Regions from separate parts of the Homo sapiens genome. Here region 1 is linked to region 2. Evidence: promoter capture Hi-C in human tissues and cell types (Jung and others, 2019). All regions are on one chromosome and are shown on one strand. Each heading gives the region's core, a stretch centred on a gene start or on the middle of the fragment in contact. The rest is flanking DNA. Distances are from core to core; before and after follow the strand shown.

The links. The method cuts DNA at HindIII sites, captures the fragments that hold promoters and counts their contacts. A contact is called where the count stands out against the background at its distance.
Region 1: the fragment with the promoter of DPF2 here is called in contact with the fragment with the promoter of GPHA2 in region 2 in 1 of the 25 tissues and cell types used here (heart left ventricle).

What each region holds. Positions count from the first base shown.
Region 1 is chr11:65,329,114-65,335,214 of GRCh38, reverse strand. It overlaps DPF2 (double PHD fingers 2), which reads right to left and starts at 1,363. Exons shown (of 11, transcript NM_006268.5): 1 at 1,297-1,363. The coding sequence starts at 1,328. RefSeq lists a silencer at 922-1,011 and an enhancer at 1,062-1,111. The HindIII fragment of the contact is 14,713 bases long and covers 1-6,101 here.
Region 2 is chr11:64,933,311-64,939,027 of GRCh38, reverse strand. GPHA2 (glycoprotein hormone subunit alpha 2) reads left to right here and starts at 3,135. Exons shown (of 4, transcript NM_130769.4): 1 at 3,135-3,194; 2 at 3,568-3,670; 3 at 3,853-4,037; 4 at 4,154-4,557. The coding sequence starts at 3,568. The coding sequence ends at 4,255. It overlaps PPP2R5B (protein phosphatase 2 regulatory subunit B'beta), which reads right to left. Exons shown (of 14, transcript NM_006244.4): 14 at 4,553-5,331. The coding sequence ends at 5,184. It overlaps MAJIN (membrane anchored junction protein), which reads left to right. Exons shown (of 11, transcript NM_001037225.3): 11 at 455-798. The HindIII fragment of the contact is 7,271 bases long and covers 1-5,717 here.

The sequences.
Region 1 (6,101 bases), core at 114-2,613, 400 kb before region 2:
GAAAAATGTCAGCCTGAAGAAAGAGCTGGGGAAACTGGAGTGGGCAGATCAGAGAGAAAGACAATAGCGTTGGGAGGAGGGGTGGCTGAAAGAGACAGCAGGATAGAGCAGAAAGCAACTTAAAAAAAAAAAAAACAAACCACAAGAGGAGGAAAGGCACTTAGCTTAATGGAAGTGGGAAAGCATTCTCAAAGAAAAGGCTTCAGGCAGGAGGGAGAAGCAACTTACTCTTTAAAAAGGCTCTTAGGAAGAGTGGGGCTCAGGCCACGACAAAGACAGATGAGAAGCTGTGAGTCCCTTAGAAGAGTTACCGAACCTTTACCTCGTCATCCAGTCAAAATGCAAAAACCCTGACTGGACAGCTAGACACCACTCAATTTTCCCACCCTTGCACCAAGCCCAACATACCCATTAAAAGAAGCTCTATTCGCCCACCATGCATTAACCCAATCTAAAACTCATTCTGATTCTTCTGTAGGAATAAATCAAGTCCCAAAGCATCTTTAACTCACAGGAAGCAGTTCATAGGCCAGCGTCCATGGCCCCAACAGCTATTAACTTTAACTTTGCTTGAAATCTGACCAGCACAATGGTATCGTATAATAGGAAGAATGCCCACCTAGATGCCCCTTTAGGCTAAGCTGTCCTGAACGGCTTCGGTCCAGTTGCAGGTTTTTGATGGCTGCTACTGGACGGGGCCAAGGCCCACTCCCCTGAAGTTCCTTCCCTTCTGGATCCGCTCCTCGATAAATTCTTCCCAAGAATATTTGTAGTCTTAGGTACCTGCCACCCAAGATCCTCCCAAACATCACGGGGCTGCCTGGAACTGAAACAGCCAGCCCCGCAGTGCACTCCGCAGGGGCCGCCGAGCCTGTTGCTGCAGCGAACGGGACGGGACGGGGCGGGGTGGGCGGCGGGCCAGCCGTAGGGCCGCCCGGGCCTCGGCCCCGCTCCTCCGGACTGAGGCGTCTCGGGAGAGGACCGGGACGGTGAGTCTCGCGTGCAGGCAGGGCGCCATGCTCTGGAAACCGTCAGCCCCGAGGAACGCTGAGGCCACACAGCCCCGCAGGGATGCCGCCCGTCGGGGCTCCAGTGTGCCCCCACCAGGGCCTCCACAAGTTTCCAAAGAAGCGCAACGTCTTCTCCGGAGTCTCCTGTTGCCCTCCCCACCAGGAGTCGCAACATGGCTTTCCCGGGGATGTCCCTCTCTCCGCCTAGTCCCTTCCCCCACCGCCCCCTACTCCCAGGCCCTTTACAAAACCTGCCGCCCTAGGAGAGAAAGAAACGACCACTCACAGCTTCACTACATTCTCCACCACAGCCGCCATCTTCCCTGTTCCTCTGCCTCGGGCCGAGAAGCCCCACAGTCCGCAGCGCGCAGGCGCCGGGACCGCACCGGGGTACCAGGTTCCTTGCCCTCTGCGCAGGCGCCGTCCGGGCGCGCGCACTAGAGCGAGCACTGAAGAAAGAGCTTTACGCCTGTTCGCGGGGGCCGGGTAGGAAATGCGTGGACCCCACGGGAGCCCGACGCGCAGGCGCAACCGGAGATTGGCATGCATCCCGGAGCTCCGGTTCGAGGCTTGCCTCTAATATTTAGAGGAGCAGGAGCCGGGGCCGGGCGCGGTGGCTCACGCCTGTAATCCCAGCACTTTGGGAGGCCGAGGCGGGCGGATCACGAGGTCAGGACATGGAGACCATCCTGGCTAACACGGTGAAACCCCGTCTCTACTAAAAATACAAAAAATTAGCCGGGTGTGGTGGCGAGCGCCTGTAGTCCCAGCTACTCGGGAGGCTGAGGCAGGAGAATGGCGTGAACCCGGGAGGCGGAGTTTGCAGTGAGCCGAGATCGCGCCACTGCACTCCAGCCTGGGCGACAGAGCGAGACTCCTTCTCAATAAATAAATAAATAAATAAAGGAAAAAAAGAAAAAGAAAAAAGATTAGCTGGGCATGGTGGTGCATGCCTGTAATCCCAGCTACTAGGGAGGCTGAGGTGGGAGGATCACTTGAGCCCAGGAGTTTGAGGCTCCAGTGAGCCACTGGAGCCACATCACTGCACTCCAGCCTGGGCAACAGAGCGAGGCTCCATCTCAAGAAAAAAAAAAAAAAAAAGGAAAAAAAATATATATACATATATATATACACATATATATATACACATATATACATATATATATATACACATATATATACATATGTATATATATACATATGTATATATATATATATATATATAAATATAATCACTAAAGCTGAAAATACACATACCCTATGACCCAGCAAAGTCCACTCCTGGATATACACACAAGAAAGCTGTACAAGAAGCTGAGTGCAATGCCTCATGCCTGTAATCCCAGCTACTTGAGAGGGTGAGGTGGGAGAATCACTTGAGCCCAGGGGTTCAAGACCAGCCTGGGCAACATAGCAAGATCCTGTCTCTTAAAAAAAAAAAACAAAAAAAAACAGGCCAGGAGCATTGGTTCACGCTTGTAATACCAGCACTTTGGGAGGCCACGGTGGGCGGATCACGAGGTCAGGAGATCGAGACCGTCCTGGCTAACATGGTGAAACCCCATCTCTACTAAAAATACAAAAACAAAATTAGCCGGGCATGGTGGCGGACGCCTGTAATCCCAGCTACTGGAGAGGCTGAGGTGGGAGAATGGCGTGAACCTGGGAGGCGGAGTTTGCAGTGAGCCAAGATCGCGCCACTGCACTCCAGCCTGGGTGACAGAGCGAGACTCCGTCTCAAAAAAAAAAAAATAAAGCTGTACAAGAATGTTCGTAACAACATTATTTGTTTATATTTATTTATTTATTTATTTTGAGACGGAGTTTTGCTCTTGTCGCTCCTTAACAAATTCTTCCTTCCAGCCCAGGCTAGAGTGCAGTGGCACTATCTCAGCTCACTGCAACCTCCACCTCCTGGGTTCAAGTGATTCTCCTGCCTCAGCTTTCCGAGTAGCTGGGATTACAGGTGCCCCCAGCTAATTTTTGTATTTTTTGTAGAGACAGAGTTTTACCACGTTGGCCAGGTTGGTCTCGAACTCCTGACCTCATGTGTTCCGCCCGCCTAGGCTTTCAAGTGCTGGGATTACAGGCATGAGCTACCACGCCTGGCCAGCTGATGTAACCTTTTCTTAAACAATCCTAAAAGAACTGAAAGCTATTGATGCTGGGTTCATAAGCTGCCTTTCCAATTATATGCAGCTAGCCTATTTATTATTAGTACTATTTTTAAATTCAAACTTTTAATTGAAATATACATAAAGAGAAGCACATAGATCTTATGTAGCTTGACTAATTTTTTTTTTTTTTTTTTTGAGACGGAGTTTCCCTCTTGTTGCCCAGGCTGGAGTGCAATGGCGTGATCTCGGCTCACTGCAACCTCCGCCTTCCGGGTTCATAGCTTGACTAATTTTTTTCAATTTTTTAATTTTTGTGGGTACATCGTAGGTGTATATATTTATGGGTACACGAGATGGTTTGATGCAGGTATACCATGCAAAATAATTGTAGCTTGATTGATCTTTACAAAATAGACAAACCTGTGTAACCACTACCCAGATGAAGAAAAAGACATCACTAGCACCTCAGTAGCCATCTCATGCTTCTAGCCCTAAAGATTAGTGTGTCTGTGTAACTGTATGTCAATGGAATCATACAATATGTCCTATTTTGAATTTGGCTTCTTTTGTTCAATATTAATTTTTTCCTTTTTTTTTTCAGCCCCCACAATGCTTTGTCTACAGTATTACATTTTTGAGATTTTTTTTTTTTTTAAGACAGGGTCTTACTTTGTCATCCAGGCTGAGTGCAGTCGTGTAATCATGGCTCATTGCAGCTTCGACCTCCCAGGCTTAAGTAATTCTCCCACCTCAGCTTCTCGAGTAGCTGAGACTACAGGCACACCACTACACCCTGACTAATCTTTTTTTTTTTTTTTTTAAGACAGCGTCAGCCAGGCATGGTGGCTCATGCCTGTAATCCTAGCACTTTGGTAGGCCGAGGCGGGTGGATCATGAGGTCAGGAGTTCGAGACCAGCCTGACCAACATGGTGAAACCCCGTCTCTACTAAAAATACAAAAAAATTAGCTGGGCGTGGTGGTGTGCGCCTGTAATCTCAGCTACTTGGGAGGCTGAGGCAGAAGCATTGCTTGAACCCAGGAGGCGGAGGTTGTGGTGAGCTGAGATTGTGCCGTTGCACTCCAGCCTGGACAATAGAGCAAAACTCCGTCTCAAAAAAAAAAAGACAGTGTCTCAAAAAAAAAAAAAAAAAATCTCAGTGGCACAATCTTGGCTCACTGCAACCTCTACATCCCTGACTCAAGCAATCCTCCCACCTCAGCCTCTCTGGGACTATAGGCACACGCCACCATGCCCAGCTAATTTTTGATTTTTTTTTTTATAGAGACAGGGTCTCACTATGTTGCCCAGGCTGGCCTTGAGCATTCCTTGCGTTCTGGCCTCCTGAAGTGTTGGGATTACAGGCGCGAACCACCATGCCTGGCTGAGATTCATTCATGTCCTTTTGTGGTAATAGTTCTTACATTGCTGTTTAATCCATATTACTGCTGATGGGCATTTGGGTTATTTCCAGTTTGGAGCTATTACACATAATGCTGTTACGGGCTGGGCGTGGTGTTTCACGCCTGTAATCCCAGCACTTTGGGAGGCTGAGGCTGGCAGATCACTTGAGGCCAGGAGTTCGAGACAAGCCAGGCCAACATGGTGAAACCCAGTCTCTACAAAAAATACAAAAGTTAGCCGGGCGTGGTGGTGGTGCCTGTAATCCCATCTACTTGGGAGGCTAAGGCATGAGAATCGCTTGAACCCAGGAGGTGGAGTTTGCAGTGAGCCAAGATGGCTCCACTGTACTCCAGCCTGGGTGACAGAGCAAGACCCTGTCTCAAAAAAAAAAAAAGAAAGAAAGAAAGACATGTTACGTCGCCGAACAACAGGTACTCTCTCTATATAGAAAACAGTATATATAGTGTTTCTCTGACAGACAGGAATCACGGAGTAGGAATTTTACATGCACATTCTTGGAATCTCAACTCTGCGCTCTGGCTGATTTAGAGCTTTTAAGACCCAAGGGAATAATGCTTCCACCAGGGGGCGCAGTAAGTTTCTCTAAATCACGATCAGATCGTCCGTCAGTAGGCCATATTTCGCTCCACATGCCACTGGGCAAGAAAATAAAAAGCGGGTCCCACTGTTGGCTGGGGCGATCAATTCCAATTGTAAAGCTTAAGATTGCTATTACCCAGTGGGGGCAGGGAGAAAAATCCGAGGAACTCCCCTGGGATGGCTCTTAATATTTTATTCGGGTAGGTAAGGGGAGATAGGCTCCTGATTAGATACTTGATTCCAACCTTCCCTCTGAAGACAAATTAAAAAAAGAAGAGGAAGTGAAAAAAAAATCTTAAAAGCATTGAAAAGCTAATAGTACAGTGAAGAATTATTGTGCCAACATTGAGGAAGCTAAAACCCAGAGAGGTAAGTTCAGCTTTTGAAGCAGTTTTTGTCCTGGAGGCATTTACTGATCTGGAAGATATAACCATGAAGTTAAACTGTTGTTTGGCAGTCTTTGTGGGGAGGGACGAAAATAAAAACCCAGAGCTTGCTCAAAGTAGGAAGTCAGATACCCCACTACTGACACGTATGTGCTGTAAGATACAAATCAATTTCCATGGACTTATAGTTCAGAATCCTATTATCTGTTTGGTCCAGGAAAGGGGGAGAGGAAAGCTCAGCCTTGAACTTGGATTAAGGTGGACCCATTTTTTTTTTCTTTTTTTTTTTTTCTGAGACGGAGTCTCTGTCGCACAGGCTGAGTGCAGTGGCACGATCTCGGCTCACTGAAGCCTCTGCCTCCCAGGTTCAAGCAATTCTCCTGCCTCAGCCTCCTGAGTAGCTGGGACTACAGGCACGAGCAACCATGCCCAGCTAATTTTTTATATTTTTAGTAGAGACGGGGTTTCACCATGTTAGCCAGGATGGTCTCGAACTCCTGACCTCATGATCCACCAGCCTTGGCCTCCCAAAATGCTGGGATTACAGGCGTGAGCCACCCCTCCTGGCCCAAGATGGACCCATTT
Region 2 (5,717 bases), core at 1,886-4,385:
AACCTGGGAGGCAGAGGTTGCAGTGAGCTGAGATCGTGCCATTGCACTCCAGCCTGGACAACAGAGCAAGACTCTGTCTCAAAAAAACCAACCAAACAAAAACATTAACTTGAACAAAGTCTATTCTTAGTTTACTTGAGCCATTCAGATGATTTGGTTACCAAACATTTCCATTCTCCCCTCTGAATCTAGGTTGTGTTTGCAAAGGACAGTTAGCAAATGTCTCTCTCTGTCTCTCTCTCTCTCTGCCATCCCATTGCAATTCTGTTTCTTTATTTCCCCCTCCTGAGTATAATCTAATTTGGGTACCTTTTCAAATGCTATTCAGTCTTGAATTTCCATTCAATGGTTCCCCAGAGCAAAAATGCCCTAGCTAGTGAAGCACTAATGGGAAATGGGGAGAAGGGAAGGAGACCTCATAGAGTCTCAGCCTACTCTGTTCTCATTCTTGCAGCTCTCTCTTCCCGTTTCGATATTTCTTCAGGAAGAGCAGCCACTCTTGAGCCTTCCAAATGCAGCGCTGGAAAGAGGATCATCTCTTGTAGTGACTCCTCCCGAGCCATTCTTCCTCCAACTCTATCCTTTTCTTATGACACTTCAGTCGTGGGGAATGAGGTCCCCATGCTGAGTCCTCTGTGGTTTTATCGTGTCCTTTGCCCCTTTATAATAGATTTTTTCCCCCAATTTAAAACATTAAGAATGGAACTTTCTAAAATGTTCATGTCCTGAGGGCCGGTTTAGGCCTTTTGTCTTCGGCACTTAGGATCCTAATGACAATAAATTATTTATGAAGAGTTATTGATTGAATTTAGTGGAATAGAGTAAAAGAGAACAAATGCTTCCCTCAAGATACAGAGAAAATGCATGAAACTTCCCTAGGTCTACCTGGTTACTATTCACAGGATCACTTTGGGTAGGTGAGTTTGTGCCAGAGGTTAGGGAATGGGGTCTTTCAAGACTCACTGTCCTGAGCCCTGCTCACCCAAGAGACCTCTTCCCCAGTTCCAGTTTGGCCCCAAATGGTTGCCTCTCCATAGACAAAATGTTTCCCACCTCTCTATCCCTTTAACTGTTTGACAGTAATGCAGATTCGTTTATCAGATTAACTGGAAGTCAATCCAGGTTGGCACCCCTGGAGAAGGCCTGGCCACCTGAGCTGCCTTCAACTAAAGGACTGATCTGTAATAGACACTTTAGCCTCATGTGGCCGTGGAGAACCAAAATGATCTATGGAAATGTAGGGAAACTCATTTTAGCTCACAACAAAGGAGTCACTTTTTACCTGTTAGAGATGTCCAATATTAGAATGGGCTACCTCATAAGGTAATGAGCCTTGTCACCCAAATGCTTTAAACAGAAGCCATCATCTGTCACATGCCAGAGGGTGCCCCTCAAGAGTGGGAGAGCAGGGGCTGAACTGCTGAGTTCCCGCTGCGTCCTGTTGCTATGCTGCCTGCACCCTTGGTGGGGAGAAGAGAAGAGGTGGACTGCTGCGGAGGACCTGGCAAACAAGGACCCAGGTCTTGAGGGGATGGGGGCTGATGGGGAAACCGTAGGGTGTGGGAATTTAAGGATTAGTGACATTAGTAACATCACTTCCTCTCAAATTGCGTTTACAGCCTTTACTCGACTGTCCCAAACATGGCCTGTTTTACAAAGCTGCTAAGAAGCACAGCTCCAAATCTGGAGCTGTGAGTGCCCGCCCTGACTCTGACTAGCTTACAGTGAAGCTTTGGGAAGTTGTTTTCCGCTGAGCTCTTATTTTCTCATCCAGAAAATGAGGGGGTAGGATTTGGTGAGTTATAAAGTGCCTTCTAGCTCTAGCAGTCTGTGACTGGCCCTGCTCTTTCTGAGCAGATCAGTGAGGCAATGACCCCAAAGCGGGGCTGCCCAGAATCACCACAGGCTTCCTTTGGCTCTCCACCTTGCCCCAACCCCTCTGGCCACTGCTGCCTGGGGGTCTTTCTCCAGCTTGCCACATTCTTGCTCAAGTGTAGTTTAGCACCATGGATGGACAGCAGATTTGAATTTGAAATCAGCCCTAACATTAACTAGCTGGGTGACTTTTAGTAACTTTCTTTCTTTGAGCCTTAGTTGCCTCATCTATAAAACCAGAGTTGGACAAATAGATCAGCTTTGCTGGGGTTGATAACTTCAGGCCCTTTCAGGAGTCAGGTCCCTGTTATTCCAGGGCTAGGGGAGCACTCCAGCTCAGAACGTTACTCTGTAGCACAGGATGCGAATCATCCACTGATACCGTGGCCATGCAACTCTGAAACAGACAGCAACCCCCAAACCCCCGGCCCTGCCACCAAGCACATCTCAGGAGACCTCCACTGGTATAATTTCCCTTGTCCCTAAGAATCTCCTTCCCCAATCCCTTTCCTTTGCAGTTAGAAAAAGGCAAGCAGGACTGAGTTTAGTGGTTTTAAAATTAGGGGTGTGGCCAGGCACAGTGTCTCATGCCTGTAATTCTAGCACTTTGGGAGGCCTAAGCAGGCGGATCACTTGAGCTTAGCAGTTCAAGACCACCATGGGCAACATGGCAAAATCCTGTCTCTACAAAAAAATACAAAAGTTAGCTGGTCATAGTGGTGTGCCTGTGGTCCCAGCTACTCAGGAGGCTAAGGGGGAGGATGGCTTGAGTCTGGGAGGCTGGGAGGTGGAGGTTGCAGTGAGCCGAGATAACACCACCACACTCCAGCCTAGGTGACAGAGCCAGACCCTCTCAAAATAATAGTAATAAATAATAATAAAGTTAGGGGTGATCAGGCCCTGAACAGGGAAATGTTCTGTCCAAGGTCACAGAGCAAAGAGAACCCAGGTGTCCACAACTCAGCCAAGAGTCTTGACCCCTGTGTCGTCAGCTGCACACACGCTGCACACTCCACCAGCTCCTAGGCTTCTCTCCACATCTGACTTATCGAGGCCTGGGCTGTGGGTAGCTTTTTGGACAGAAAGAAGCAGAAAGCAGCAGGAGCTGCTCTCCGAGGACCGCACCTCAAAGAGCAAGATCCCCCAGGTGGGATCGCTCTGAGGCTTCAGGCAGGGGAGGCTGGTTTGAAAGCCGATCTCCAAGAGGGCGTGGCTCCAAAATGCTGGCAAATAAAAGCCTGGAGAGCCAGCACCAAGCTGGAGACCAGCAGGAGGCACAGGAAAACTGCAAGCCGCTCTGTTCCTGGGCCTCGGAAGTGGTGAGCTCGCTGAGGCAGGAGGAGCTCTGGGGAGGGTCTGGGAATGTGGACGAGGGCCCTGCAGGCCAAGATGGGGCAGATGGAGGGAGGAAGATGTTTGCGCTCCAGATGGCGAAGAAAATTCCAGGGAAGGGAGAATCACTGCACAGAGGGCTGACACACAGGTCCTTTCCAGAGACAGCTGCTCACACTCACACCCATACACACACACACACACACACAAAGGCAGATACAGGGAAAAGGCAGCACCATTCAGGCACACCTCACCTGTCAGACCAGCCAGCCCTGGCTCACTCACCTGGAATGCAGTATTTAAAGAACTCGCCATCCCACCTGCACACCCACGTAGAGACATCTCCCCACTGTGTTTCAGATGCCTATGGCGTCCCCTCAAACCCTGGTCCTCTATCTGCTGGTCCTGGCAGTCACTGAAGCCTGGGGCCAGGAGGCAGTCATCCCAGGCTGCCACTTGCACCGTGAGTACCTCTGGGACCGGAGGGCTAGGAGCAGTGGAGGTTCTGGGTGGGAGCAAAGAGCTGAGTGGACGGTGGGGCAGGCAGCACCCTAAAGGGCCCCACACTGAGGCACAGGCAACGGGAGCTGGGGCGAGGCAAACCTTGGCAGAGGCGCCGTCTACTGCTTGCCTATCTCCTTCTAGCCTTCAATGTGACAGTGCGAAGTGACCGCCAAGGCACCTGCCAGGGCTCCCACGTGGCACAGGCCTGTGTGGGCCACTGTGAGTCCAGCGCCTTCCCTTCTCGGTACTCTGTGCTGGTGGCCAGTGGTTACCGACACAACATCACCTCCGTCTCTCAGTGCTGCACCATCAGTGGCCTGAAGAAGGTGAGGAGGGCCCGGGCCCGGTGGATGGACGCTGGGGTCGCGGGAAGACCAGAGAGATGGAGATCCTAGACAGCCCTGAGAAAGGGGACTGCAGCACGGACTCCCCTCTCCCGCAGGTCAAAGTACAGCTGCAGTGTGTGGGGAGCCGGAGGGAGGAGCTCGAGATCTTCACGGCCAGGGCCTGCCAGTGTGACATGTGTCGCCTCTCTCGCTACTAGCCCATCCTCTCCCCTCCTTCCTCCCCTGGGTCACAGGGCTTGACGTTCTGGTGGGGGAAACCTGTGTTCAAGATTCAAAAACTGGAAGGAGCTCCAGCCCTGATGGTTACTTGCTATGGAATTTTTTTAAATAAGGGGAGGGTTGTTCCAGCTTTGATCCTTTGTAAGATTTTGTGACTGTCACCTGAGAAGAGGGGAGTTTCTGCTTCTTCCCTGCCTCTGCCTGGCCCTTCTAAACCAATCTTTCATCATTTTACTTCCCTCTTTGCCCTTACCCCTAAATAAAGCAAGCAGTTCTTGAATTTCTCTCTTTATTAAGTCTACCCCCAGCCACGGAAAGAGGAGTAGACCATGATTACTGTGAACCCCCCCTTACCCCAGGACACTGTGAATCTCTTCTTGCCTGTGCCCTCCCCCTCCCCCTGCCCAATAAATAAAAAGGGGACAAGGAAGTACACAGCGAGGGAAGGGAGGAGTGTGCACCCAGGACAGTGTCTGTGTAGAGGGTGAGCTGGGCGAGAATAAATAGACCATGGACCCCATGGTGGGGATAAGGAAGGACCTCGCATTGGCCAAGGCAGGGGCAGGCGAGGCGCTGAGTGCCCTTGCCCAAGGCCAGGAGCAGAGGGTGGGAGCCCGCCTGCAGCTGGAGCCTAGCTTTGCGGGGCAGGGGAAGATCCCTGATGGCAGCTTCCTGGTCAAGCTTGCCCTTGTCAAGTCCTGCCACGAGGGGCTGAGCATTCTGTTGCCAAGACCACCATTGCCTCTCCTCGTCTCCCCCCAGTGAAAGCTGGGCTGGGCAGGGAGTCCTCAGAAGCCACTCTGGCAAGGCCAGGGGTAGGTGTGTTTCTCTCTGGGCCCCTGGACAGGAGAAGGGATAGAGGGACTGACAGCTCTGGGTTTAGCTTTTCCCCTTCTGAGGTGCTGTCTAGCTCTGACCCCCACTGGCGGCCACCTGGGGTGTAAGCCGCTGGAGGGGGGCCTCCTTGGCCCCCTGGGTCCCCTGTAGCCGGCGTAGCCGCAGCTCCTCCAGACCTTGCCATAACTCCTGACGCTCCTGGGCCTTCTGCTGCTCCCTGGGGAGAGAGGGTGAGGCAGCTCCCTTTCCTGGGGCCCCCCACAGTCCAGACTCCCTCACAGTCCAGACTCCCTCACTACCACCCCACCGGCAAAGGGAAGGCATGGAACCATTTTTGTTCTGTGACTCCATAAAAACCCTCTACTGAGGGAAGAGAGCAGAGGACAGACAGATCCCAGCCTGCAGTCACAGAGAAGATGACGGGTGGGGCCTGAGTGGTTCTGGCTTCTGTAGGAAGCTACAGGGAGTCAGAACAAGTCTGAGCTACTCGAAGAATGACGGGAGGATACAGGGGCAGACAGTCAGGCATAGGATGGCAGGAGCATGGACAGTCTTGCAGCATCTGATCAGACAGAGTTTGGGGTAGTCCTCGGGTTCCCTCCA